Linked DNA regions of Homo sapiens: all the other regions are linked to region 5. The links are contacts of gene promoters, found by promoter capture Hi-C in blood cells and fetal thymus (Javierre and others, 2016). All regions are on one chromosome and are shown on one strand. Each heading gives the region's core, a stretch centred on a gene start or on the middle of the fragment in contact. The rest is flanking DNA. Distances are from core to core; before and after follow the strand shown. Region 1 overlaps EPC2 (enhancer of polycomb 2). Region 2 has its middle 59 kb from the start of KIF5C. Region 3 holds the start of KIF5C (kinesin family member 5C). Region 4 overlaps EPC2 (enhancer of polycomb 2). Region 5 holds the start of ORC4 (origin recognition complex subunit 4). Region 6 overlaps KIF5C (kinesin family member 5C). Region 7 overlaps LOC101928526 (a long non-coding RNA gene).

Region 1 (3,060 bases), core at 128-2,627, 740 kb before region 5:
TATATAGAAGTCACACAGATGCAACAACTATCTCTAAGGGTTGTTATGAGGATTAATTGGTCAGTATGTATATAAATACTCCTAGCAAAGTGCTTGGCTCATGGTAAGAACTAAAGTCACGTTAATTACTTTTTCTTTACTCAAACCATATTAAGACAACTGCAGAAATCAATAACTCCTCTGATCAACATTACCATCCATACATGCTTCTTCCCAGACAATATTCACCTTAGTTTTACATTCTTGAACTTTGTGATGATTTCCATTATGAAGAGTTGCTGGAGTGGCATATAACTCTTTTTCTGATCTACTGATTTTTACTTCATTAAGGATTTCACCACCATAGTCTCCCAAATGGTATCTTGAAAAGGTAACAAAAATATAAGAAAACATTGCATAGTTTGACAATAAAGAAGGAAAATAAGTGATACCTCAATTAATTGGAAGTCACCTAGTCAAAAAGGGCTAACAATCAAATTACTTTTAAAAGATAAAATTTGCAGGAATAAAGAAACAGGGATTTGGTAAAAACAAAACAAACCAAAAAACTAAAAAAGGCCTAAGGTACACAGCAAACAAATTTCTTACATATATTATATAATCAAGCACTAGGAAATGTTTAGAATGCTTACTCCAGGAATCATACAAAATTCTGTTTTTGTTTAGTCTATTTAATTTTGTAGGAAAATATACTATATTAGAGCACACATTTCTAAAAGGAGTTGAAACGAAAAATGTCTACCTACTCAGAAAATAAAATCAATACTTATTTCCCTCAGATTTAATAGAAAATTTAATACAGAGAAGTAAACAATATGATCACTAGAGTTCTTTACTAAATAAAATTCAATGATTCTGCCAAAACAAAATTAAGTATAGGATCTACAGTATACACAAAACTCTCCCAAAATCTGCAATCCAAATTGATAACTTAATCTATAAAAACTAGTAACCACAAATCTTTAAAAAATATAAATTCTTACAGAATCAATATCAACTGTCATAAAGCTTAACCTGTTCCCCCCTAAAAATCTTTTGGTTCATTTTGCCCATCATTTGGTAAAGTTGTCATTTTACTGTTGTAACAGGAGCAATGTTACCTTTTCTCCACAACTTCTAAGGTTAAGTGCAATAATTCTCGTTTTGTTTTCTCTCTTCTCTTAATCATTTCCAAAATTGTTATGGCTCTACTAAATTCTCGTCTCAGTTTCAACATCTTTTCATAAGAGGCTTCATCATTCTTACGATTCTATTAAAAATAATAATTTTAGAAGAATAAACAACACAGTTATCTACATTTCCGGCTTTATTCAATAAACTCTTATCAGACCTGAATTTATCCTATAAAAGTAAAATGTTAAAAAAAATCTGAACAGCAACCTATGTAAGATAACCTATAACTATTTAACTCTGAAAATATAAGTACAAGCAAGTATCTCTCGACACTCAGAAAAAAAATGTTGCCAGCTGTTGAAAAGGTAGAATGGCATAAAGAGATAATTTCAATGTAAACAAACAAAAAATGTCCACCTGAAACAAAATCTGTTATCAGAAAATGTAGTCCATTCAGCGTGTAGGAAAGTATTTTCCAATGACAGAGAGGAACAGTTCTGTCCAGATCAAGGTAACAGTCAAAATGAGTCCCCTCATCCATTCATCCATCCATCTCCAGCTCTGTAACTGGGGGCTGGATGGTTTGATACACTGTACTATTATGTGAACATGAACAATGACCAGTAAAGCTTCACTTCAGAAACTCAGAAAACTGAAAGTAGGATAACAACCATTTCAAGAAATCGGACTGTCAATTTTCAATGTAAATGTAACACTCCACTGCTGAGTAGAAAAGAGATTTAGCAAAAATACTGAATTTCAGAACACTGTTTATTAGCTTTTCAACTAATTATTATACAAAGTGAAAGCCCTGCTACATAACTAGAAAAGGCTCAGTTGTAATTAGTAGCATCTATTTGCATATAAAATTATTACTAATATAAACTATTTTGTTAAACATCCACAGATTCCTCACTTTACTATTAGGCATGGAACTATTTGTTTAAAAATAGACCACTACCACCTCTCCAATCTATGCATCCAGAGTGAACTGTACTTAAGCAATCATTCATGCCTTGATTTAATAATCTGAAATGACATTAGAAAGAACCTAAGGAATACCAAAGGTTTCATATTGGAGGATTATAAAAGAGAAAAATAACAATTGAGAAAAAGTCAAAGTTATACTCTTTTTCTTTTGTGTATAGTTTCCTGCATTTGAAAAATAATAGTCATATATTAAAAATAACCTACACTAAGTCCCATTATGGTATTCCACATCGAATATTAAAAATAAGTCATCCTTTTGTGTAATTTTAAAAAATTCATCTTTTTCTTCTTCATTACTATGACAAAAGGTAAATCTAAAGCATATGTTTAAGCATTTTTTTAAACAGGCAGCAATAATACCTTTCAATTAAAAAAATTAATATTTTCGACAGCAACTATTAAAGTGCCTACACTGTGCAGGGTATTGCACATGTCCCTTACCCTCAAAAGGCTTAGAATCTAGTAAGGATGACAGACAGAAAACAGATATACAGAATTGTAAGGCAGATAATAATATGAGGTTACATGCCAGCTGGCAGCTGAATAATATTCAAAAGTGCACCAGAACCTTTTAGATGGCTCCCCTGTTCAGTAAGTGTTCCTCTTGGAGGTTCTACCCTGTCTTATTCATATCTTGTTTTGCTTTTGTGTGTGTGTGTTTGTGTGTATGTGAGACAGAGTCTCACTCTGTTGCCCAGGCTGGAGTGCAGTGGTGTGATCTCAGCTCACTGCAACCTCTGCCTCCCAGGTTCAAGCGATTCTCCTGCCTCAGCCTCCCTCCTCCCTCAGCCTCAGTAGCTGGGATTACACGAATCCACCATCACACCCAGCTATTTTTTGTATTTTTAGAAGAGATGGGATTTCACCATGTTGAGCAGGCTGGTCTCAAACTCCTGACCTCAAATGATCTGCCCACCTTGGCCTCCCAAAGTCCTGGGATTACAGGCATGAGCCACT
Region 2 (3,143 bases), core at 436-2,935, 800 kb before region 5:
CTCCACCCCCACTTTCCCAGGAGACATCATATCCAGACGTCAGCTCATAAAACCAGGTCCAATTTTGGAGGCTGCAGTGATCTGGGAACCATCCAATGTGTCCTTGCAGACAGGCAGTCACAACTCGGAAATGACGATTGCATAGAGGTTTCAATGTCGCATGCAAATAGCCTATCTCGCTGACAATTTTCAACTTGCTGTCATTTAATGATGCTTCCCCGCTCTCCAAGGAAAGCTGGCACCAAGTGGGGGAGGGGTTCCTGCTTTTCTTTTCAGTGCTCCACTCATACCACTGTGGCTTTCAGAAGCTGAGCTGGGAGTTCTGAAAAGCCAATATCTTTATCAAGTGGGAAAGGAGAGAGAGCCAGGCAGAGATAGGTTTCTCTAAAATAAGACCCTACTTGATTTTTCTCCCTGGGACATTTATAGCTCATAGCAATGAGCCCCAAAGATCCTTATTTGTCCTAGAATCAGAACCCTAGTCTCACTCAGCTGAGGGTAGGGGGAATTTAATGAGTATTTCTGTAGAGCTTTGAAAATTACCACCATCACTTCAGTGTCAAAAACACAGACAGCGGCCAGGCACGGTGGCTGATGCCTGTAATCCCAGCACTTTGGGAGACCAAGGAGGGTGGATCACCTGAGGTCAGGAGCTCGAGACCAGCCTGGCCAACATGGTGAAACCCTGTCTCTACTAAAAATACAAAAATTAACGGGGCGTGGTGGCAGGCACCTGTAATCCCAGCTACTCGGGAGACTGAGGCAGGAGAATCGCTTGAACCTGGGAGGCGGAGGTTGCAGTGAGCCGAGATCGTGCCATTGCACTCCAGCCTGGGGGACAAGAGTGAGACTTTGTCTCAAAAACAAACAAACAAAAAACAAACAAATGAAAAACAACACAGACGGCTAGGTATGGTGGCTCACACCTATAATCCCAGCACTTTGGGAGGCTAAGGCAGGAGGACGCTCAAAGCCAGTAGTAGCTCAAGACCAGCCTGGGCAACAAAGCAAGATCCTGTCTCGACGAAGAATTTTTAAAAATCAACCTGGTGAGATGGCACACCTGTAGTCTCAGCTACTTGGAAGCTGAAGTGGGAGGATCATTTGAGCCCAGGATGTGGAAGCTGCAGTGAGCTATGATTGTGCCACTGCTCCAGCGTGGGCGACAAAGCAAGAACCTGTCTCTAAAAAAAAATGTAAAAATGTTTAAAACCACAGCGTATATAGAACAATATTGGATATTTGTTCCTGGCCAACAAGCTTTCATTGAGCAATGTGTAAGAACTGCTGAGGGGGAACAAAATAATCCACCTCAGAACAGAATCTCTCCCCAGAAAGCTCAGGCACCATGCGTTGCAGAACAGAGAGGCTTGTTTCCGGAATGAAGACAGGGTTCAGGGGCACCTCGAGTAGCAGCTGAGGCCTGAAGCACTGCATCTAGAGCAGTGGTTTTCAAAGTATGGTCTCTGAGACAACAGCATCACCTGGGATGTAGTAAAAATGCAGATTCCCAGGGCTTGTCTCAGACTTTCTGAGTCAGAAACTTGGTGGGGTGCAGTGGGGGGGGTGGGGGGGGCAGTAATCTGCATTTTAACAAGTCCTCCAGGTGATTCTAATTCAATTTAAAGTTTGAGAACCATTGACGTAGTCTGGACTCCAGAAAATCATCTTGGAAATTTTGAGCCCTGCTGGATTACAGGCAGGAGGGCGGCAGGGAAGGACCCTGCTTTAAGCTATTGCAGTCATTTCCTCCCTAGTGTAAATGGGGATGGGAGTGGAGGTGGAGGGGGTGAAGGTGAGAACACCGGAGGCAGAGAGGCTGAGGAGGTAGAGGAGCACATCTTTTCTGCCTTCCCTGTGGAAGCAGGATCCACCCAGTGCAATGATAAAGCAGCTGCCTGAATAGGATCCTGCCCTCTGTTTCACAGGCATGGGGTCTGCAAATGCGTCTGGAAGGGTTACATGGTGGGATAGAGTTAGGTGAGATGGCCACAGGGAGGATCTCAGGATCAGTCCGGAGATCAACCCTAACTGGCTGCTGTGTACAACCTGCACAACAGTACATGGTAGCCCTGCTCAGGAAACAGGAGCTGAAATAAATAGAAGCTTCATCCTCAGAGCAAAGAAGAGATATGAAGGCGAATGCCAGGGTTGAGGGGGGCAGTAGATGAAAGAGAAGATGAGCTCCAGAACAAGGTGTTTTAAGGGATTTGTTCTGATCAGGTCTGGTAAGACACACAGACACCGAAATGACTCATTGTAATTGCCAAAGCCAATGCACTGAGAATAGCAGCGGTTTTTTTTTTTTGGTTTTTTTTTTTTTGTTTTTTTGCAGCAAATAAACAGTTTAATAATCACAGGGCCAGCCAAGTGGAAGAATGAGAGTTAGCTCTTAAATCCATCTCCCCAAGAATTTGGAGGCTAGAGTTTTTCAGGGATCATTTGGTGGGCAGGCAGCCAAGGAATGGGGAGTGCTGATTGGTAGGTTGGAGGCTGAAATCATGGGGGTCGAAGCTATCTTCTTGTGCTGAGTCCATTCCGGGGTGGGGGTCATAAGACCAGTCGAGCCAGTTCCATGGTATGGGTTACTGGTCCGGGTGGTGCCAGCTGGTCTATCAGAATGCAAGGTCTGAAAGGTACCTCAGATGCCAGTTTTAGTTTTTACAAAAGTGGTGTTCTCTATAGAAGCGTTTGGGGGAGGTTACAAATCTTGTGACCTCTGGCCACACAACTACTAAACCCCATTCTATCCTCGTTGCTAATTTTTTATTGGTTTTACAAAGGCAATTTTGGTCCCTGAGCAAGGTGGGGGTTAGTTTCAGGAAGGGGCAGTTATGATCTTTGTTTTAAAGTGAAACTATAAACTAAATTCCTCTCCTGTTTAGCTTGGCCTACACCCAGGAAGGAGCAAAGGCAGTTAGCTTGTGAGATTAGAAGCAAGACGGAGTCATTTGGGTCAGATTTTTCTCATTGCCATAATTTCTGTCAGATTTCTCTCATTGTCACAAATTTTACAAAGGCGATTTCATTATGAAGAAAGGTTTTTTGGTTGTTTTTGTTTGCTTGTTTGTTTGTTTTTGAGACAGGGTCTCACTTTGTCACCCAGGCTGGAGTGTAGTGACACAATCTCAGCTCACTGCAGC
Region 3 (3,187 bases), core at 595-3,094, 850 kb before region 5:
TGGAAAACGTCGGCCTCTGGCGCTTGAGAAAGGCCAGGCGGACTCCTGCAATACCCTCGGTAAACTGTCACCTGTCAATCACTTGACCTAAATACACCAGCCACTGGAGGAAGGGGAGGAGGGGGTTAGTCGGAGCATGCTCAGTGATCAGGATGACATCACTTAATCAATGCTGGGGACGGGAAGGCTGCATCAGCAGCCTGGAGCAGGCTGCCAGGAACGTGTCAGCGGGGACCGGGAGGCTCCCATTAACTCGGTCCCTCCCCACGCGGCTCGCATACAAAGGGGGCACCATCAGCCACACACGCTACGGACAGCGGGCGGGGAAGGGGCGGGGGACCGAGCTGGTTTGTTTCATCTGACAGATTCCTTTAAGAACTACAATCCATTGGTGTTCCCTCCCCCTACCAGCAGCCCCAGCTGCAGAGAGGGAGCTAAGTAGGGGGAGGGGGTGGGGGAGAAAAGGTGGGGAAGGGAGATAGAGAGGGAGGGGGGTCCGAGCCGCACGAAGTAACTTCTGCTCTTGGCACAGGGGGCTACTGCGCTCTGAGCCCCCTCGCCCCACAGATGTGGACACAGCCTCCTCTCCACCCAGCGTGAGGCGCATCAGAGGGTCTGCAGACATGGGAGGGAGGTCATCCCAGAGGGGAGGGATCAAGCCGGGACTCCACATCCAGGGCAGCCAGGCGTGAGAGGAAGCGGGAGACACACCAGGCCTCCAGGGGACACCGAGGCCACCAGTACTCCCCCAACCCTCCGCCTTCCGCGCGCGGAGCCAGGTGTAACACCGCGGGGAGCCGCGTCTACACTGCCGCGGGAGCTCCGAGACGCGACTAGAAATTTTCCTGTACCCCTTTTTCTTTCTTTTTTGCTAGGGTCGTGAGAAGAAGAGGCAAGGCGTTTGGTAAATCGAATTGATTGATGCCCAGAAGCATTTGCGGGTTGCAGAGCTCACACTTTAAAGGGGGCCTGGGCACCCGGCTTGAGGGTCACCCGAACACACTACCCACGCGGCGAGGCGAGCGTGGGGAACAATGGGCCCACCCGGGCCCCCACCCGGCGAACAATGGCGGCGCCGAGCCCGTCTTCGCCCCCCATCCCCACCCCCGCCACCCCCGCCCGGCCCGCCGCTCCCGGCCGCCTCTCCACCCGCCCGGGAGGGAACCATAGTGCGCGGGGCGAGGGGTCTCTGGTCAGGTCCACCCGAGAGGCCAGCCCCGCGGGAATGTCCGAGGGGGCGGCCTAAACACCTCCGCTGCGTCTGGGGCGTCGGGGCGCCCAGCTGCGGCGCGGAGCAGCAGGGAAGGCAGACGCCCCAGCCACTTACCCCGATCACCACGGTCTCATCGCCTTTAAATTTGGGGATGAATTTGTCCCCGCGGAGGATCTCCGCTTCGTTGAGGGGCCGGAACCGGCACATCACTTTGATGCTGCATTCGGCTGGATCCGCCATCTCGGCCGGCGGTAGGGAGGGGGCACGGGGATGGGTGGGGGGCCGGGGCCGGGAACGACGAGGGAGGAGGCCGCGAGCTGCACCGCCCACAGCTAGGCCGCCTCCTGCAGCCTCCGACGACGCTTCTCAGCAGGTCATCGCGAGCCCGGCCGGCTGAGCAGCCCCGGCCGCTCCGAGCCCGGGAAGGTGGGCAGCTTCTCCGCTCCGGCCCCTCCGGCTGCAGACCGGCCTGCCCTGGCCCTGCCCCGCCCCTGCCCAGCGCCCCCCGGCCCACCTGCCCGCGACCACGCGGCGGGCGGAGGAGGCGATGCGCAGGGAGCGAGCCTCGCCCGGCTCAGACCTCCCGGGCTCCTGCGCGCTCAGCCATCCTGCATCAGCACCAGCGCGCTCTGCCGCCTTGAGACCCGCCCCTCCGCCCCGCCCTCCCCTGGCCCGCCCCGGGACGGTGACGTCACCGTAGAGGTCCGCCCGGCCCCCGCCCGACTCCGAGCGCTGCGCATCCCGGGACTTGTAGTCACTCTACCTGCCGGGGGAAGGACAGGATGCGACCTCCAAGAGCCTGCAAGTCCGGTCTGGCTGCCCAAGCCGGAACCGGATGGAGGTCATATCCAATATTTCCGGTTAAAATCTCTAGATAACTGGGTCTGGATCATCCTGATCCCAAAAGAAAATCACTTGGGAAACAGCTCCCAATAGCCCCTGGGTTTCATCCTTCAACTTCTACCACTAGATAAGGATGGATGTCTGTTCAGAGTTTGGGTTTGATTGGCCTTGGTTTAGGTTGGCATCTAGTGCTAAACCAATCAACCAGAATCAGGGATTTTGTAAGATTATGGAGGAATCCCTTGGTGGGAAGGTTCCCAAAAGAAGAGGGATGGTATTCCCAGACATGGTGCCGGGCTGGCAGAACAACTGAGTGTCCACTCTATTTTTCCAGAACTTCCTTTTCCTCTAAGACCTAGCTCAACCCTCCTTCCTCAGACTTTCCCAGCTCACTAAACACCTATAAAGAGTTGGTGGCCCTCCTTGATGTTCCCCTAATCTGCTGTGCCTGTCTCTAGCACTGCACTTGGGTGGTGATATCTGCTTGATATCTTTGTGTCTGTAGCATCTAGCACATAGTGGGCAGCATACTGAATAAGGATTCTACCCTAGGAAGAAGCAATGCATGAGTGTGAATCCCACCTCAGCCACTTATTAGATGTATGACCAACAGGCGGAGGAAATTAAGAGCGGAGGAAATTAAGAAGTCTTAATTTCCTTAAGACTCAGTTTCCTCATCTCTGTCATTGGAATAATATCATCTTGTGATTTCTGGGGGAATTAAAAGACAGATGCTTTTAAAGCACCTAGCACGGTGCCTGACATGTATATAGGATAAGCTCTTGAAAGTTAGATGTTATTGGGTGCTGAACAAATGATCATAAAACAAATAAGTTAGTTAATTTTAGGAACACATCTGTTGCTTAAATTCGGGTAATACCTGAAAATACAAGTGTTCTCTGCCTAGCTGAGAGGACAGACCTACTAAAATCAACTTTTATAAACCCTTGTAAGTAGTACCAGTTCTATTTCATCTCCTCATGTGCAGTGGAAGTAGATTAAAAAGACCCAGGTGCCACCTTCTCATCTGTTTTTAAATTAAGTAATTCTCAGGCTCTGGCTCAGAGACCCATCATCTTAAATGATCAACTTCATAATATACTAGAGAGGACAATCCAATTCTCAGTTTCC
Region 4 (2,866 bases), core at 138-2,637, 760 kb before region 5:
TCCATTTAAGCCCAATCTTTCTGGTTCGTGGTTCTCTCTATGGTAATAAGGCAAAGGATAAAATAAATATCAATACTCTCTAGAACATGACGTTACCATTTAGTATTTTACAAAAACATTGTTACATAATTACAACTAAACATGACTTCACAAGAACAATTCCCATTTTTGCCATTTCTAGATAGGAATGAGAAAAACTTTTCTTCAGCTCAGAAATTCCATTAATTCCTAATTTTTTTATTATGGCTATTTACTTAGGAAAGATAATAATTTAACATGGCATTTCAGTAGAAGCCAATGAGAAATTACTTATGAAATATGTATCACAGGACAAACCAAGTTTTTCTTTTTTTTTTCTCGAGAGATGAAGCATATGACACTCAAAAAGAATAATCATTAGGAGCACAATATTACTGAAATTACTTTCCATTAGAGTTTAATTCTATAGGCTTAAGATCATGTATTTATTAACCTATGCAAATCAATTTTTTTCTGATTCATTGTTCTCCTTGTATTAGTGTCATAGAAAGAAATATAAAAACATTCTAAAATATACTATGGATGTCCGTAGTAATCCATAAAAGTAAATAAGGTAATTTACTTTCCCTTTGTGTATGACGCTAAAGAAAACACAAATTTGGATGTGAAACCTAAACTCTGGCATGGAGTTAATCATAACAACTCCCATCTTCCAGACTGCCTAAACTATAAAACATTAATACAAGAGGAACTTCACACTTGTAATCCCAGCACTTTGGGAGGCTGAGGCGGGTGGATCACCAGGTCAGGAGATTGAGACTATCCCGGCCAACATGGTGAAACCCCGTCTCTACTAAAAATACAAAAATTAGCCAGGCATGGTGGCATGTGCCTATAATCCCAGCTACTTGGGAGGCTGAGGCAGGACAATCGCTTGAACCTGGGAGGCGGAGGCTGCAGTGAGCTGAGATTGCGCCATTGCACTCCAGCCTGGGCAAGACAGCAAGACTCCATCTCGGGGGTGGGGCGGGCAGTGGGGGGAAGAGTAACTGAAGCTTCTAACATAGACTCTGATGTGTTTGACAGTTGGATGTCCTTTTCTTTCTTTTCCTTTCTCTCTCTCTCTCTCTACTACTACTCTGTCTTTCTCTAACAATCCTACTAGGTTGGCATTTAAGCATCCTACTAGGCACCTTAAACAAATACCTAAGTCACAGAGCTTTATACAGATCTTCAGTATCTATTGAAAATCAAGTCTGTCAATAAACACCTATTGCTTGAGCAGTGTAAAAAAAAGTCTTTTTCTTCCCACAGGACAGCCAGCACAAAGGGAGAAAAATCACTGAAACACACACACACACCTTGCTATGCTGCTGATGGCACTGCTGGGAGTAACCTTTGGCACTCTGTCCATACTGGCAGCAACTGTGGCAAGTTTTAAGGCTGTTGGCGATGGTGCTGAAGTCCGTGTATTGATATGCACATTGACTGGAGAAACAACACTGACATTATTGAGGTGCACTGCATTTGTCAGGCAGGAATTGTTCATGGGAAGTGTCTGAGGACTGCTTGTGCACAATGCTGGGATTAAGTGGTTTGTAGTGGTGTGGCCAACTGTCCTTACAAGCTGTACAGCTGAAATCCCTGGGCTGGATGATAAAGCCATATTGGTGGAGTATAATGTTTTAGAGGTTCCTGAAAAAGAAAGAAGTCATTCAACTAGTATCATGAGACATCAATACAACTATTTTTAGAAGCTTAATAAAATAAATACGAACATTTGTATTTGAATTGAATGCCAAGTTAACTTTTCACACACTGGTCTCTCCAAAGGGAGCTTCTGATCACTAAGTAGAATGTACTAATCTGCTACAACCCCCAAAACACCCTCTTTCTACTGGTCTACATAAAACGGCTTTGCAAAGTATTCTGCTGCCTGTATCTGGCAACTGTGGAGTTAAGTATAACAGGACAGATGGAAATGACAGTTGGGTTTCCCTAAGTATGTACACATGCATGAATATTAGTAAAAATGGACAATCAGGTTCATGGGTATATATAAAAGCAACTGGAAAATCCTAGGGTCTGAGAGGTAGTTGAAGGATGATAGGAATAACAAGTCTTTGCGGACTCAGGGTACTAAGAAGCACACAGGGTTTCACAGCAATACTCTATCTAAAGAGCGGGAGCCAGAGTTAGTATGCCTATGAGCAGTATGTAAGAGTGGGAAGGCAAATCTGATTTCCAATTTATTACTGTCCTGGATTATCTTTCACTTTTTTATCAATGCATGCATGATTCAATGGGGATGGTTAGCTCAACAGATTTCCTAAGATGTGAGGCAACTGACAGTATGTGAATGAAACCAGGAAGGGTAGAATGTTACACAGGTATGTATTCAATGGATGAGGGAGAAAACAAGGAGTAGATTCTACATGAATTCTAGAAAACATCTACCTATTTCCCACTATCTTTCCAAAGAAATCCTAAAGAGTCCTGATTGACTTATACACATTTTCCCCTTGGATAAAAAAACAAAAAACAAACTCCCAATCACTGAGTTACAACTTCAAGAAAGTAGGTACCATGTGAAACCCCAGCTGTACCTGAAGGCTGGACAACACCGTTTATGTTGTTGTGGCCAGTGTTCTGTTCCTTGGCTACCTCACTGCGACTTGGAACAGGTGCACTGACCACTGCAGATGCAGCAAAGTGGGCGCTGGCTGAGTCAAGTGTTTTAGACATACAGTCAGAGGTGCTTGAGCCCTATAAAATGAACAAAGTTAAACACTCTAATTTTTAGATGTGATTTTATGAACATATTAAGGGATGGGGCAAACCCAAGAGGCTGTTGCCTTTCTAACCTTGAACAATTACAAGTGTTTAG
Region 5 (3,275 bases), core at 703-3,202:
CAAGAGAAATTGAGATGAAAAACTCATCTCAATTTACAACAGTAAATAAATAATTCAGCTAAAACTGAAAGTGGTACCAATCCAGCAAACTATTGATGGAGAGGTTTGGCCTTCCATGCAGCCAGAACAACATAAAGTTTTCAATGGGGATTACTTGTTCAGACAAGTTACAAAGATTACAAATATACCCAGATTAATTATAAAATAGCTAATATTCTCATCATATGGAAAATAAGTATCAGGAACGTATGTGGGAACAGACAATAGCAGTGGCATTTAAACTTTAAGCATTTTAGAGCTTTGGACTTTATATACTGATATATGAAACAGACATTTAACCAAAAAAAAAGCAATAATGCAAGTCAAAACCTAACCAAAGGCCTCTACCAACTAAAAATTTGAAATTTTCCATGGAAGTCAGACAAAACGAAAAAATGGAAAATGAAACCCTTAAAGCAAAAACCAATCAAGTCTTCCAACACTGAAGTCAATATCCAAATCTCATACAGGACCAAAAAGGGGAAAACACTCAGGTCTACAAATGGATAAGCAGTTCCAATACAATCCAGATCCCGACATTTTCCCACTCAGAAACAAATGCAGTGGAGCTTTTCCTGGAGAAAAAGAGCTCTCCAATGAATTTTTTTTAAGTGACATCTAGAAAGTGTGCCTCTTTCTGTCTCTTTCCCTGGCGCCTCATTGGAGGAAGGAGGGGGTTGTTTTTGTATTCTCCCCCACTGGAGCAAGACACAATCAGATGTTAGATGGAGGAGAGAAACCACTTTTGACAACAGCAAATAAAAATAAAAGTGCCCTTCCTCCCCTGACAGGATGGGCACCCCACCTCACACACCCCTCCCTACTCCAACCCCTCCTTCACCCCCCCCAGCACCACCCCCTCCTCACCCCGGAGCTCCACTGCGTATGTGGTTTGGTGCTACTGTTGCCCCGGAGTGAAAGTCAGAGCCAGAGGAAGGCAATGAAGCCCCCACAGACACACTTACCTTTCCTGCCCCCCACTTTTGAGTGCCTTCCCTGGAGCTGTGGAGGATGACACAAAGGGTAATAAAGGGGGGGAGTGGAGGAGGAGGAGGCGAAGGAGGAGGAGGAGAGCTGGGGAAGTGGCTGCTCCTGGGTGTAGTGAGATGTCTCCAGCCAGGGCCAAGCAGCAGCAGTAGCAGCAGCAGCAGTAGCAGCAGCAGCAGCAACAGCAGCAGCAGCAGCAACAGCAGCAGCAAAGGGTCTGTGTTGCTAAGAGGCTTTTGGTTTCTTTCTCTCCTCCTCTCACGGCCAAAGAGGAGGAGGGTGGAGGGAGGGAGGCGAGTTGGAGGGGTGAGGGGGTAGGAGTCGTGGATGGGGGTTTTCGAAGAAGAAGAAACTCCTTCTCCTCTCTCAGGCTCAATCCCCCTCTCAGGGCTCAGGGCTGGAGGGTGGGGGAAGGAACTCAGCCGCCTTCCCCCCACCCCCCTGAATTCAAGGTTGAAGTGGGGTAGAATTAGTGTCCTGTCCCTTTAAAAATAGAAATAAAAGGTGCCCCCCCTCTGCCACTGCCTCTCTCTTCATCATCAGCTGCTGCTGCTGCTGGGGTCTCTCTGCTTGGGGGGGAGGGGGGGTTCGGGTAGAAGAGACGGGAGGCACTCACTGCGCATGTCCCTCTCTGACGGGTGGCTGGTTGGTTGAAGGCAGGAGGAGGGGGAGGGGAGGAAATGAGCTATTTTCCCAGAAGGCGTCGAGGCGCTAGCGACCCGGAAGACATTGTAGCGGGAGGTACAGGAGCGGGGGCGGGGAGGAGGAGGAAGTCGCTACGCTTTTAACACCCCCAGCTCCCTCCTCCTTCCTAAGGGAAAGTGGAGGAACGGAAGTGGGCGTGGACGGAGACGAAAGGAGGTCACGTGTTTGGGCGGGAGAGGGGCGGGGTGGGAGAGGTAGTGCGTGCGCGGGGCATGCCGGGAGTGGTTGTGTACGGTCCGCAGCGGCAGGTGAAGTCTAGCAGAGGACGCGGCCAGGCGATTCGGTGAAGCGATTCCTGCAGGCGTTGGTTCCCCTCTTTGACCTGGTAAATGCAGGCTTTTATGCGAGAGGTAATGGTGGGGGTAAACTTGCTGCAAACGAAGGCCAGGGGCGTCGGTGGCGCAAGGTGAATCGAAAGTGGGAGGATGGAAGGCTGTGGAGATTGGGAATTGGGAAGGGGGCAGGCTTGTATAGGCCGGGAAGGCCAGGACCAGGCGAGCTCCGTCTTGTGGCCACTCCCGCCCCGTGAGCTTGCCGAGGAATCCTTGACAAGTGCAGGGATCCTGAGTCTACCTCTGCATCGGGGTAGTAGGTGAGGAGCGTGACGGTCCGAGTGTAAGAGAGAAGGGAACTGTGAAGCCTCAGCAATTGACCCTCATGACTGCAGGACGGAGGACTTCTATCTAGGGACAGAGACAAGTCCTCTGTATGCATTTTGACCAGATGCATCACACGCGTTGCTCATATTGGATATTGCGCCCTTCATGCCTTACCTCTCAACCCTCCCTGGTATTCTGGAGTGGCTTTGGGGAAGGAGCAGGCAGGGAAGTCTTGAGTGGAGCTTCCCTCCATGTCTTGCGTTGTTGCTACAACACAAAGCCTTTGCTTTTTCTCGGAGAGGGATGTGGGATTGTGTAGTCCTTAATGTTGAGTTCTACGATTGATGAAGGAGAAGGGACGTGATCAAAGTTTCCCCTTATAGTGTAGATGAGAGTTTTAAAAGGACTGTTTTGTCAAGTTTCTTTGGTTACTATTCTTAGTTTTTGAGCCTTTGGTTTCCCAAATGCCAGCTGTTTTTGCTGAAAATAATGAATTTCTATCATAAAATTAGAATTAACTCAAAATATTTAAGAAAGGATTTATAAATTTACATTAGTAAAGCTTTTATAGTGAAACAGTGCTGGTTCTTTTTCATTGTTTTCATACAATCAATATAAAGCATCACAGTCTCAATATGTTTTGTAAAGATATTTTGAAGGAATATCATCTTTGTATGTTTTTTAAAAACCAAGAATCTAAAATTCTTCGTATTTATTATGTTGGTACTTAATTCTGTTGGGTGGGTTCTTTTTGTTTGTTTTTTGTTTTGAGACGGAGTCTCGCTCTGTCTCCCAGACGAGTGCAGTGGCGCGATCTCGGCTCACTGCAACCTCTGTCTCCTGGGTTCAAGCAGTTCTCCTGCCTCACCCTCCCGAGTAGCTGAAACTACAGGCATGTGCCACCACGCCTGGCTAATTTTTTTGTGTTTTCAGTAGGGACGGGGT
Region 6 (3,100 bases), core at 104-2,603, 880 kb before region 5:
GAAGAGAGAATCCAGGAACACGAGGGGCACTTCTGCTGGCTGATTCGACCACAAAAGGTGCTGGTTGCACAGTCACTGCACAGACAGGGGGCATTAACAGGAGGGGAAAGAAAGGATTTCCATTTTGTTATGGACCAACGCTGACTGTTAGAACCCCAACTCACAGTGCGAAAAAGAGCAGCAAACCCGGTGAAGAGGTCTCTTCTGTGCACAGTCCACCCTCGGGAGGGGCAAGAAGTAACCAATCCTATTTAATTCAAGTCAAAAATCTTTAAAAACTATACCTTCCTTACATTTGTTCCAGTGTTCTGGCCTCTGCAGGGGCTATTGACTCTTTAAGAGGCTGTAACTGACGCCATATCTCACAGGCCGTCCTCCAGATTCCTTAAGAGGTGACAAACAGTATTTCCTCTGAAATGTCAGAGATTGATGGGGGGAGGTTTCCAGGAGCAAGGAGCTAGGAAGGCTGGGAGGGATGGAGGGACCAAGTGCTACAGTGACAGGAGCCTGCCACTGGGGTATCTGACATGGGTGTACCACATCTGCCCAGCTGGTTCCCAGAGCACTGATGGGAGGAAGTTGCTTAAAAATATTAAATTGATAAATAGCCTGTCATTGGGAATAATTGAAAGCATCTTATATCTCAGTTTAAAATCTCCTTAGTTCGGTTTCCATATTGCTTTCTTTTTTTATTTTCCTTGAATGAGAAATATGTTCATATAGTTCAAATACCAAAAAGTATAAAGGATTTTTTAAAGGTATAAAGTATAAAAGTGAAACGTCTCCCTCACATCCCTGCCCTCTATTCCTGCAGCTGCCAGCTGCTCACCACCTCCCAGCCCCAACACTTCTGCTGGTGCCTCACCACTCTCTCCAGAGTTCTTTCTTTGTGCACACAGAAGCAGTCAACCATACATCCCTAATTGTTCCTCTTTGTGCTACAAAAGGTGGCAGGTTATATATACCTGCCTCCACCTTGCTTCTTCCACTTAATATATCTTGAAGACTTTTCCATATATCAGTACATGGAAAGCTTTCTCATATTGCTTTATTTTTTATTTACATACAATGATGTATAGATGTGAAGTATTCCACTAGATGATTTTGACAATTAGATATCCTCGCAACATCTCGCAACAACCACCTAAGACTAAACAGGGCACTTGTATCATGTCCCTTTCTGGTCAACCGCATCTCAGCAACCACCATTTTTATTTCTGTAACTGTAATGCAATGTGGGTTTGTTGGGGTTTTTTGTATTTTATGATATTAAGATTTCTGTTCCTGTCAGAGAGCAGCAACGAATGTTCATGAGCTATTCTCTATGAAGAATCCTCCAACACAAGTCCCTGCCCCACCCTACCTGCCCCCTTCTAGACCAGGTACCCTCCTTGTGGCCCCACTCCTACACTTGCTTTCCAACACTGAACCATAATCACTTCTGAAATTTTCTCTTTCTCCCTCTGGTCTGTAAGCCCAAGCTCCATTTCTTTGTCCCCAATGCATCTCCAGTACAAAGCACCAATTAAATATTTGCCAAACCCTTTCCCAAAGGCAGTTTGTAATTAGAGAGTAAAGGTGTCGATCTCTGACCAGTGTTGCTATGGGAATGACTGAATGCAAACTTCATTTTACAATTAAAGTAACTGTCAGAAAGGAGGCAGGAAGCTTGTAAAGAGGCAAACGAGGGTAGTGTGGGATGAGAAAGAGCCATTCCCAGGGTTCTGTTGGCAGGGAGGGAGAGGCCCCTATGTCAGCTGACTGTCTGCACTCATGGAAGGAAAAAATGAGGAACATTTTAAGACTTGATTTCCAAGATTTTGAAAACAAATCAGAGGCCTTTCTTGGGCTTAGCATAAAACCATCACAGATAGGCATTCCCTACATGACTAGATCACTGGACTGTAAGCTTTAAATAGAAAATGGTGAGGCAATGTGGGTTATTGGAAAAGAGTGTCCACAATGATATGTGTTTAAGGATGAAGGGGGAGATAAATTATCAGGAAAACCATCTGCTCCAAGGTCTGAGAAATAGAAGGCACTGGCAAAATAGAGACATCTTTGGGGAATACTGAAAACTAAGCTGCATAGAAGTCAAATGGGGAAAAAAAATCACAAAATCAGCAAAATAGCTTTCCAAGAGCAATCAAACAAGGTACCTGAAGAGTAGAAAAACAGTTCAATAAAGCTGACCAAGCAGCCCGACTCTGGGGCAGCTACCAACCTTAATTGTCTCTGCATCGGTTTGAGCTGAGCTTAAAGTTAGGCAGAATGAAGTGGCCAAGCACTTGTTTTCCATGAGATCTGAAATCATTCTGTTGCCTTAATGCCCAGGCATACCCTACATTCAGCTGTGAACACAGGAGACATACACAGAAATATGAGAAGGGAAAGCCCAACCTCATGGAATTCAGGAAAGAAATACCCATGACTTGGCTGAGGAAATCTATTGCAACCATTTTTAAGGAGTCTGTTGGTAACTGAGGAGTAGTAATTATCCAATTGTTTTCTTTTTTTTTTTTTTTTTTTTTTTGAGATGGAGTTCTGCTCTTGTTGCCCAGGCGGAGAGCAGTGGCGCGACCTCGGCTCACCGCAACCTCTGCCTTCTGGAATCAAGCGATTCTCCTGCCTCAGCCTCCCAAGAGGCTGGGATTACAGGCGCCCACCACCACGCCCGGCTGATTTTTTGTATTTTTAGTAGAGATGGGGTTTTGCCATGTTGGCCAGGCTGGTCTCGAAATCCTGACCTTAGGTGATTCACCCTCCTCAGCCTCCCAAAGTGCTGGGATTATAGGCATGAGCCACCACGCCTGGACCCAGCTGTTTTCTTATGCCAAGCATAAGCACATCTAGATGTTCTCATTTAAGAGAATAAAATAAATCTCTTTAATTTGCTTTACTTCACCTGTTCCATTTTCGTTAATCCAAAAGCTGACATTGCCAATGGTATTTAACAATAAAGCAGCAAGTAGTCTTGAAACAAAAATAACATTAAAAGGAAAGAGTAAGATATGGCTTTCTATGCTTTGTCACTGACTCTTAAAAAAATAAGATTAAAAGGTGTTCGATGACGAAAGAACTATATAGGCTAATCTGAATT
Region 7 (2,972 bases), core at 345-2,844, 840 kb before region 5:
CAGTGTCCTGAAACAACCATTTTTTATTCTCACCAATCCATGGGTCAGCTGGGCAGTTCTGCTGAAGAAGCCCCAGCTCAGGTGACCTTGGCTGGGCTCACTCACATTTTAGGGGATCAGCTGGCCCGTCAGCTTGTTCTAAGATGATCTTGGCTCTTCTCCACATGTCTCTCGCATCACTCAATGAGGCTGGCTGAGATGTGTTCTCATGGCAAGGTAGAGGTGCAGGAGTGAGCAAGCCCAAGTGTGCAGGAGGTCAAGTGGGAATGTGCTTGTACCATTTACACCTCTGCTTTGCATTTGCTGACACTGGCCAAATCAAGCCACAAAGTTTTAGGGCAAAGGATGTTGTTATGGACTAAATTATGTTCCCCCTCTAAAATAATATGTTGAAGTCCTAATCTTCAAGCCACGGGAGGTAATTGAGGTTCAATGAGTTAAGGGAAGGGCCCTAATCTAATAGGGCTGTGGCTTTATAAGAAGAGAGAAAGCTCCCTCTCTCTCTCCATGCCATGTGAGGACACAGTGAGCTGGTACCTTCTCCAAGCCAGGAAGAGGGCTCTCCCCAGAAACTAACCATGCTGGCACCTTGACCTTGGACTTCCAGCCTCCCAAACTGTAAGAAAATAACTTCCTTTGGTTTAAGCCACCCAGTCGAAGATATTTTGTTATGGCAATTTGAGCAGACTAAAACAGGTGTGGACTCATGGACACCATTTATGGGAGACATCCATGCAACTATGTACAGAAGGAAGGAAGGAAGGAAGGGAGGGAGGGAGGGAGGGAGGGAGGGAGGGAGCAAAAAAGGAAGGAAGGAAAACAGAAGGGGTAATGGGGAGGTGGTTGTGTGAAAGGTTCTGGTTCTGCCTGCAGTACTCTCTTTGTAGCCTATTCTCTTCCTATCTCAAAATTTCATGCAAGCCTTAGTAATAGATTTTTTTAAAATATGTCTTTTTTAAAATTTAACTTTTAAGTTCAGGGGTACATGTGCAGGTTGGTTACGTAAGTAAACTTGTGCCATGGGGGTTTGTTGTACAGATTATTTCATCGCCCAGGTGTTAAGCCTAGAACCCATAAGTTATTTTCCCGATCTTCTCCTTCCTCCCATTCTCCACCCTCTGAAACTCCCCAATGTGTATTTTTCCCCTCTATCTGTTTATGTGTTCTCATCATTTAGCTACCAATTTATAAGTGAGAATATGCAGTATTTGGTTTTCTGTTCCCTGCATTACTTTGCTAAGGATAATGGCCTTTAGCTCCATCCATGTTCCTGCAAGGGACATGATCTCATTCTTCTGTATGGCTGATAGTATTCTATGGTGTGTATGTGCCACATTCTCTCTATTCAGTCTACCACTGATGAGCATTTAGGTTGACTTAGGTCTTTACTATTGTGAATAGTGCTCTGATGAACATACGTGTGGGTGTGTCTTTATGATAGAATGATTGATATTCCTTTGGGTATATACCCAGTAATGGGATTGCTGGGTCAAATGGTGTTTCTGTTTTTAGGTCTTTGAGGAATCACCACACTGTTTTCCACAATGGTTGAACTAATTTACATTCCCACCAATAGTGTATAAGCATTTCTTTTTTCTCCACAACCTCGCCAGCACCTGTTTTTTGTTTTTTGTTTTTACTGTTTAATAATAGCCATTCTTACTGGCATGAGATGGTATCACATTATGGTCTTGACTTGCATTTCTCTAATGATTGGTGATGTTCAGCTTTTTCATATGCTTGTTGGCTGCATGTATCTTCTTTTGAGAAGTGTTGGTTCATGTTCTTTGCCCACTTTTCAACAGAGTTGTTTTTTCCTTGTAAATTTAAGTTCCCTATAGATGCTGGATATTAGACCTTTATCAGACGCATAGTTTGCAAAAATTTTCTCCCATTCTGTAGGTTTTCTGTCTACTCTATTGATAGTTTCTTTTGCTGTGCAGAAGCTCTCTAGTTTAATTAAATCCCATTTGTCTAATTTTTAGACAAAATTTTGGAGAAAATTAGATCCCAATTTTTGCTTTTCTTGCAATTGCTTTTGGTGTCTTCATTATGAAATCTTTGCCTATTCCTGTGTCCAGAATGGTATTGCCTAGGTTGTCTCCTAGGGTTTTTATATGTTTGGGTTTTACATTTAAGTCTTTAATCCATCTTGAGTTAATTTTTGTATATGGTGTAAGGAAGGGGTCCAATTTCAATCTTCCACATATGGCTAGCCAGCTATCCCAGCTCCAGTTATTGAATAGACAGTGCTTTCCCCATTGCTTGTTTTTGTCAGATTTGCCAAATATCAGATAGTTGTAGGTGTGTGGCTTTAGTTCTGGGCTCTTTATTCTGTTCTATTAGTCTGTGTGTCAGTTTTCATACAAGTACCCTGCTGTTTTGGTTACTGTAGCCCCGTAGCATAGTTTGAAGTCAGGTAACCTGATGTCTTTAGCTTTGCTCTTTTGCTTAGGACTTCCTTGGCTATTCAAGCTCTTTTTTGGTTGCATATGAATTTTTTAAACAGTTTTTTCTAGCACTATAAGGAATCTCAATGTTATTTTTAAAATAATAGCATTAAATCTATAAATTGCTTTGGGGAGTATGGGCATTTTAACAATATTGATTCTTCCTCTCCTTGAACATGGAATGTTTTTCCTTTTGTTTGTGTCCTGTCTGATTTCTTTGAGCAGTGTTTTGTAGTTCTCATTGTAGAAATCTTTCACCTCCCTGATTAGCTGTATTCCTAGTATTTTATTCTTTTTGTGGCAGTTATGAATGGAATTGTTTTGGCTTGACTATTGTTGGTGTATAGGAATGGTAGTGATTTTTGTGCACTGATTTTTTTTTAATTCTGAGACTTTGCTGAAGTTGTTAATCAGCTTAAGGAGCTTTTGGGCCAAGACTGTGGAGTTTTCTATATATAGGATCATGTCGACTGCAAACAGGGATGATTTGCCTTCCTCTCTTCCTATTTGGATGTGCTTTAT

The links. Contacts are between HindIII fragments. The CHiCAGO score rates a contact against its expected background, and 5 or more counts as called.
Region 1: a contact is called between a fragment that was not itself captured here and the fragment with the promoter of ORC4 in region 5, in 8 of 17 cell types (naive CD4 T cells, total CD4 T cells, fetal thymus and 5 more). The highest score is 13.7, in naive CD4 T cells.
Region 2: a contact is called between a fragment that was not itself captured here and the fragment with the promoter of ORC4 in region 5, in 1 of 17 cell types (activated CD4 T cells). The highest score is 5.1, in activated CD4 T cells.
Region 3: a contact is called between the fragment with the promoter of KIF5C here and the fragment with the promoter of ORC4 in region 5, in 9 of 17 cell types (non-activated CD4 T cells, total CD4 T cells, activated CD4 T cells and 6 more). The highest score is 17.9, in non-activated CD4 T cells.
Region 4: a contact is called between a fragment that was not itself captured here and the fragment with the promoter of ORC4 in region 5, in 7 of 17 cell types (total CD4 T cells, non-activated CD4 T cells, naive CD8 T cells and 4 more). The highest score is 7.7, in total CD4 T cells.
Region 6: a contact is called between a fragment that was not itself captured here and the fragment with the promoter of ORC4 in region 5, in 1 of 17 cell types (total CD4 T cells). The highest score is 7.5, in total CD4 T cells.
Region 7: a contact is called between a fragment that was not itself captured here and the fragment with the promoter of ORC4 in region 5, in 1 of 17 cell types (naive CD8 T cells). The highest score is 6.3, in naive CD8 T cells.

What each region holds. Positions count from the first base shown.
Region 1 is chr2:148,759,971-148,763,030 of GRCh38, reverse strand. EPC2 (enhancer of polycomb 2) reads right to left here. Exons shown (of 14, transcript NM_015630.4): 5 at 1,101-1,249; 6 at 229-361. Among named protein-coding and RNA genes, the nearest start is that of KIF5C, 110 kb to the left of the region's middle. The HindIII fragment of the contact is 734 bases long and covers 1,011-1,744 here.
Region 2 is chr2:148,814,364-148,817,506 of GRCh38, reverse strand. No RefSeq gene overlaps it. Among named protein-coding and RNA genes, the nearest start is that of KIF5C, 59 kb to the left of the region's middle. The HindIII fragment of the contact is 846 bases long and covers 1,263-2,108 here.
Region 3 is chr2:148,873,884-148,877,070 of GRCh38, reverse strand. KIF5C (kinesin family member 5C) reads right to left here and starts at 1,844. Exons shown (of 26, transcript NM_004522.3): 1 at 1,328-1,844. The coding sequence starts at 1,453. KIF5C-AS1 (KIF5C antisense RNA 1) reads left to right here. Exons shown (of 4, transcript XR_001739733.2): 3 at 1-59; 4 at 876-3,187. RefSeq lists enhancers at 20-599, 600-1,178 and a silencer at 1,551-2,020. The HindIII fragment of the contact is 10,493 bases long and covers 1-3,187 here.
Region 4 is chr2:148,783,476-148,786,341 of GRCh38, reverse strand. It overlaps EPC2 (enhancer of polycomb 2), which reads right to left. Exons shown (of 14, transcript NM_015630.4): 12 at 2,586-2,745; 13 at 1,341-1,674; 14 at 1-37. Among named protein-coding and RNA genes, the nearest start is that of KIF5C, 90 kb to the left of the region's middle. The HindIII fragment of the contact is 702 bases long and covers 1,037-1,738 here.
Region 5 is chr2:148,019,414-148,022,688 of GRCh38, reverse strand. It overlaps ORC4 (origin recognition complex subunit 4), which reads left to right and starts at 1,952. Exons shown (of 14, transcript NM_181741.4): 1 at 1,952-2,056. It overlaps MBD5 (methyl-CpG binding domain protein 5), which reads right to left and starts at 1,598. Exons shown (of 14, transcript NM_001378120.1): 1 at 1,005-1,598. RefSeq lists enhancers at 1,431-1,530, 1,710-2,307 and a silencer at 1,881-2,040. The HindIII fragment of the contact is 3,631 bases long and covers 1-2,894 here.
Region 6 is chr2:148,899,136-148,902,235 of GRCh38, reverse strand. All of the region lies in intron 1 of KIF5C (kinesin family member 5C), which reads right to left. Among named protein-coding and RNA genes, the nearest start is that of KIF5C-AS1, 5.7 kb to the right of the region's middle. The HindIII fragment of the contact is 635 bases long and covers 1,036-1,670 here.
Region 7 is chr2:148,856,536-148,859,507 of GRCh38, reverse strand. LOC101928526 (a long non-coding RNA gene) reads right to left here. Exons shown (of 2, transcript XR_244868.1): 1 at 1,664-2,972; 2 at 6-309. Among named protein-coding and RNA genes, the nearest start is that of KIF5C, 17 kb to the left of the region's middle. The HindIII fragment of the contact is 4,757 bases long and covers 1-2,972 here.